2 separate regions of the Homo sapiens genome follow, and region 2 is linked to region 1. The links are contacts of gene promoters, found by promoter capture Hi-C in blood cells and fetal thymus (Javierre and others, 2016). All regions are on one chromosome and are shown on one strand. Each heading gives the region's core, a stretch centred on a gene start or on the middle of the fragment in contact. The rest is flanking DNA. Distances are from core to core; before and after follow the strand shown. Region 1 holds the start of ZNF691-DT (ZNF691 divergent transcript). Region 2 overlaps FOXJ3 (forkhead box J3).

Region 1 (2,890 bases), core at 183-2,682:
GATGAGAAAGCTGAGGCTCAGAGAAATTAAGTATCTTGCCCAAGGGCACACAGCAAGTAAGTGGCAGAACTGGGGCCTATGCCCATCACTTCAAAGTCAGTGCTTTTAACCATTATACTATTACTGAAGGAAAAAAGGAGAGAAGACGGGAAGGAAGGAAATAAAAACAGTACCACTGAAGTTCACATGATACAGATGTATCTCCCTGATGAAATCAGGGCTGAGAAGTTTCAAGGAGGAGTAGGTATTTGACCTAAGGTTTGCAGGATGGGTAAGACTGGGACTTGCAGAGATAAAGAGGCAACTACCTACTGAGAAGACAGTGCAGCTGAAGTACAGAGGCACTTTCATATCACACTGCAGAGATCTGGGGGGAAAAGGGGTCTATTGGGCTTTGTCTTCCTGGTGGCTCAGCTGCACAGAGAGAAGCAACGGTGGAAGGGGCTGAGAAGTGGAGGAGGGGCCAGGTCTAAGAAGTTAAGAGCCAAGAAGATGGGGCTAGTGATCACAGATGATGAAGGTGAAGCGCCTAGGTTAAAGGCAAGGGGCCAAGCCATAGTGCGGTATGGAGGTCCGAAGTTACAGGTCTTTGGGGCCAAGTCAAGGGCTGCAGGGAGGAAGAGGAGAGAGGAGCTATGAAAGACCAAGAGCAAGGTGCTAACAGGGTAATTGTACAGGGAAGCTAGATAACGGGTCAGAGATACAGGAGGACCAAGGAAGTCAGAGGGTCGCAGGAGACGGTCAGGGAAGAGGAAGCAAAGGCTGCCAGAAGTGTCACAGGCCAGGGCCCAAGAGCTGAGTTGTGTGTTGCGGGGCGGGGAGAAGCCAATGGCGGAGGTCCAAGGGTACAAGAGCTGGTTTCAGAGATTGCCGGCGGGCTTGGGGCCAGAGAGGTGGGAGAGGAGGAGGGGCTGATCCTAAACGTATGGTCAGCGGCAGGAAGGCTGTATACTCAAACCCAACAGAAGGGCCGGGGAATGGGTTGGGGACAGCCACCTGGCTGCGTGGGCCGGGGGCCAGGGCGAGGGTCGCGGCGGAGGGACCACAAGGCCCCTTGGCTTCCCACTCGGTCCAGGGAGCAAAGCAGCAGCATCCAGATCCTCGGTGAGAGGGAAGTGGCCGTGTACAGAGTTTCCCGCGAAGTCGTGTCCGCCTCCCCCCGCGACCTCGGGCCCAACCCGGACCCACCTCGCTCCCGCCGCTCGATCAGGGACAGCGCCGCCTCTGTAGGCGAGGGAAGGAGCTGGAGCCGGAGCCGGAACCCAGGAAGGATCCGCCCTACTACTCCAGGATTGGTTTCTTGGGATAATTCTTTATTTCCATTGGCTACCATGACTGCCACAACGCAAGCGACCTGGCAGGACCACCAATAAGCTTTGACCGCTGGCGTGGCATGCTGGGAGTTGTAGTCCTAAGGAAGCGCGTAGACTCAGAGAAAACTTGCGAAGTTTAGGATGGAGCTGAAGAGACTGGGTTCCGTCCTACGGTGGGATTTCTTTCCGTGCTCGCGCGTTCAGCCCCAAGTCTCAGGGCCACTCGTCTGGGAAGTTGTAGAATCTGTATAGCCAACCTACACAACCTCCAAGGGGGCAAGTACTCAAATTTCCTTCTTTACTTTGAGTTGGTAATCCTTGACCGTCCTGTAGACGTCCAACGAAGCCTAGAGTCTGGCACCTCACTCAAGGTTTATAACTTAAAATCAAAGGAGGGTAGAGCTGGAAGGGAGTTTAAAGATAAAATAACCCAATCTCCTTATCGGAGAAGCTAAAAGTACCCTGTTCAAGGATCAACCTCCAGGTCTTCCAGCCCCCCTGAGCAGGGATTTTCCCGGGTTCCGCGTGCATCCCTAATTAAGCCTGACACGTGTTCGTCAATCCAGACACAACAAGATCACCAAAGTATCCAGGACTAGGTCTTTTTTTTCAGGTTTTATTTTTTAAAATAATAAAAGGCTAATGAAATACGTAAACTACAGGCTTCTCGTATCTGCACAATGTTTCAGTGCAAAGAACAAGGAGCATTGCCTTCAGAGCTAGATAAACCAAGTATAAAACTCTGGCTCTACCACCTAGCCATTTGGAGTACCAACTCCCTCCCCCATAAAATCCCTGGCAGAATTACTGTGAGGATATTATATATACATACATATATTCTCATGCATGTGTATGTGTATACATATATACATATATATGTATGTATGTTTTATATAGTTGTAAGGTTATAATACATACATATATTGAGGTTATTTCTTGATGACATTAATATTCAAATCAGTAGACTGATATGTATGTACATATATACATGTATAATACACATACATGTGTATATACATATACTAATGTATACATGTGTATATACATGCATACATGTGTGAATATGTATTATACATACATATGTATATATGTGTATACATATACACGTGCATACATGCTAAATACATATACATATATATACACCTATGTAGTACAGATATGTATATACACATACATGTATACATGTGTATATGTGTATGTATGCATATGTGTGTGTATATTATATGTATATTCATGTATGTATGTGTATATGTATGCATGTATTCTGCCTCCACAAGCTGACAATGTGAGTTAGTTTTAAGATTGGGATATTCAGGAATGCATGTTTGGAACTGAATATGGTTGAGTGAAATATGTGTGCCTTATGAACACTATTTGTTTATAAATTGATAAAATAAAATACTAGAGAGCAGACTCAGGAATAAAACTATGGCTTTAGTATGAACGGTGGCTAAACCTTGCCTTGGGGGACTCAAAGCTCTTTGGAAACCAATCTCTTACCTTCCCCACAACTCCTCATTCACAATGAAAATAACAGCATACCAAAACACAAATACCAAACTTTTATTTTAAAACTG
Region 2 (2,890 bases), core at 104-2,603, 510 kb after region 1:
AACTGGTTTGAAACATGGTTTGAGTAGTTTTTTTCTTAATGTCTCTTCCAGATTAGGGTTTCCATCTTCTGTTTTGCTGTTTTGAGACCACAGATTGTTCCCGCAATAACAGTGAGAGAAGCCTATTCCTCCTGGTCCCTAGCAAATATTTATAGAAAAGCAGTAACTCCTCTCTTTTTCTGAGTGGTATATATTATATAGACGTGATTAAGTTTTTTAGTTTCTTAGATAAATAGGAGGATTTCTCTTTTTGCTTTTGTGTCTCAGAATTGAGGTGAATCTTCTTGGTTTTGTGCTGCCGAGGACAAAACTGGGAAGTTTCTCATGCTTTCATTAGATTTTTTTTGGATGAGGCTAGAACGTGTTTATTTTGGCTCTTTTTTGTTCATTAGTTTGGGTAAAATAAAAAAACTTAATGTTTCAAAGTCACTTACTAGATTCCAAAGTGGCCTGCATTCTCACTTTTTCACATTGTACATTCTTTGAGTATATTTTTGACATTTTTTTCCTTTTATCTGGTACAGTTCGTATATTCCCTTTCCTTCTATGTAGAATGAAAATATTTAAATATAGATTTTAGATTATATTTTTTCATTATGCTAAGTATGGGTGGGGCAGTGGAAAATGGAGAATGTTGTTCTGATACATACTGAGGCTTTTTGTTTTTTTTTGGTAAGTCAGCATTTGTGTACTTCTGTAAAGTACCGAGTTATCTATGTGTGAAGTCTGTATGAAGAGACGAATAAGATACGTGGTCTCTTGGAAAGCTTCAACTTATATCGAAAGAACAGAGTTTCTTTTTCTGTTCGGGAAACATGTACATCATTCAGAATTATCAAACTGCATCAAACTTCTCCTTGGGATAACAGTACAACCAAGGTCAAAAGTGTAAGGGACATTTGAGAAAGATACAAATTTCCAAAGGGAAAGAGGTGTATTTCAGGAGAGTGAAGGGGCCTGTGCAAAGCGAGAGAAGTGGCAATGTACAAATGATATCAAGGAGCTTGACTGTCAGATCATCTGTGTTGGTGAATAATAATAAATGAGTTTAGGATTGGTGAGGGGGTATTGATGGAGGATCTTTCAAGGATAGAGGGTTTAGTTTGATAGGGTACCACAATGGGTTCTAAAGAATGAGAGTAAGATGATGCATCTTGTTCCTGAGGAAGGTTTTTGTTTCAGCTGAGTGTCCTGGGAGTGGAGAGACTGATTAGAGTGCTTATGGAGAATTTTAGGAATAAGCTGATGAGGGTCTGATATAAGATAGTGGTTGTAGGAATAAAATAATAGCTAACATTTACTTACTGTATGACAGGTATTCTAAGCGCCTACGTTTGTTTAATTCATTAAATCTTCATAATAAGGTATTAAAATCAGAAGGGACTTTGGGCAAGTTGCTTAACCTTATGCATGTAATTATTCCCATATACAATGAACGGTTAGATGAAAGGTAGATTTTGCACTGACCAGGGATATAGATGCTAGTAAAACACATCAGTAGATGTGTGTTGGGAGGGTAGTAGTATAATGAAGAAAGAGCTTTGAGGTTTGGAATTTTGGGTCTTGAAATAGGCTAATAGCATTCTGAGAAGAACCAGAAAGTGCATCATTTCCAGGATAGGAAGATTTTCTACAAGGGCAGGGTGTTGACAGTTTCAAATGCGGTGTAGAAGTTCAGAAACAGTGACTACAATGAAAAGACAATTGAATTAAAGCAGAAGAGATAATTTGTAAACTTAGAGAGAAAATTGAAAGGAGGGGTAAGAATAGATGCCAGATTTGTTTTTCACAGGATTTGTAGAGACATTAGTATCTGATATGGTAATTATTAGTATTTCCTTAAAAAAAGAAACAAACTTATGTTCCAAAGCCAGTGATTTTATACTTTAACGCTTCTCTCCTTAAACTTTTATTCTTTTTTTTTTTTAAAAAAGCTTTCTTGAAGTATAATTCACATACCATTTCATTCACACATTTAAAGTATACAAGTCAGTGGTTTTTAGTGTATTCACAGAGTTGTGCAACCATCACCACAGTCATTTTTAGGACAGCATTTCAAAAAAAAGCCTTGTACCCATTGGCAGTCACTCCCCGTACCCTCACCTCCAGGCAGCCACTAATGTACTTACAATCTTGTAGAGATGTTGATAATTCCAAATGCCTGTTGTGGGCATTTCATACAACATACGGTCTTTTGTGTCTGACTTCTTTCACTTGCATATGTTTCAAGGCCCATCCATGTAGCATGTATCAGTATTTCATTCCTTTTTATTGCCAAATAATATTCCACTGTATGTATATACTACGTTGATAGCCATTGCTTTAGTTGATGGACATTTGAGTTTCTTATTCTTTCATTATTATTATTATTATTTGAGACAGAGTTTCTCTCTGTCGCCTAGGCTGGAGTGCAGTGGCGCCATCTCGGCTCGCTGCAACCTCTGCCTCCCAGGTTCAAGCGATTCTCCCACCTCACCCTCCACAGTAGCTGGGATTACAGGCGTGCACCACCATGCCCCGCTAATTTCTGCGTTTTTAGTGGAGACGAGGTTTCACCATGTTGGCCAGGCTGGTCTTTGAACTCCTGACCTCAAGTGGTCTGCCTGCCTCGGCCTCCCAAAGTGCTGAGACTACAGGTGTAAGCCACCGCGCCTGGTCAAGTTTCTTAATTCTTTTAAACTCCTCCCCATTTTCATTGAATCTTCACCCTGCCAACCCCTCACATGGCCTTCTTTTAGATTATAACCTCTGCCATGCATTTTGCTAAGCATTGGGGATATAAAGATGAATAAGACATGGCCCTTGAACATTCATATAGTGTTTTATTGGTTTATATACATTTTCTCATACATTCTCTAATTTGATCTCAACAACCCTGTGATAAAGGCAG

The links. The method cuts DNA at HindIII sites, captures the fragments that hold promoters and counts their contacts. A CHiCAGO score of 5 or more calls a contact.
Region 2: a contact is called between a fragment that was not itself captured here and the fragment with the promoter of ZNF691-DT in region 1, in 1 of 17 cell types (monocytes). The highest score is 5.1, in monocytes.

The regions. Positions count from the first base shown.
Region 1 is chr1:42,844,956-42,847,845 of GRCh38, reverse strand. It overlaps ZNF691-DT (ZNF691 divergent transcript), which reads left to right and starts at 1,432. Exons shown (of 5, transcript NR_186083.1): 1 at 1,432-1,589. It overlaps ZNF691 (zinc finger protein 691), which reads right to left and starts at 1,233. Exons shown (of 4, transcript NM_001242739.2): 1 at 1,189-1,233. It overlaps ERMAP (erythroblast membrane associated protein (Scianna blood group)), which reads right to left. Exons shown (of 12, transcript NM_001017922.2): 12 at 2,855-2,890. RefSeq lists enhancers at 1,197-1,266, 1,427-1,696. The HindIII fragment of the contact is 2,341 bases long and covers 1,377-2,890 here.
Region 2 is chr1:42,330,867-42,333,756 of GRCh38, reverse strand. All of the region lies in intron 1 of FOXJ3 (forkhead box J3), which reads left to right. Among named protein-coding and RNA genes, the nearest start is that of FOXJ3, 2.9 kb to the left of the region's middle. The HindIII fragment of the contact is 1,167 bases long and covers 770-1,936 here.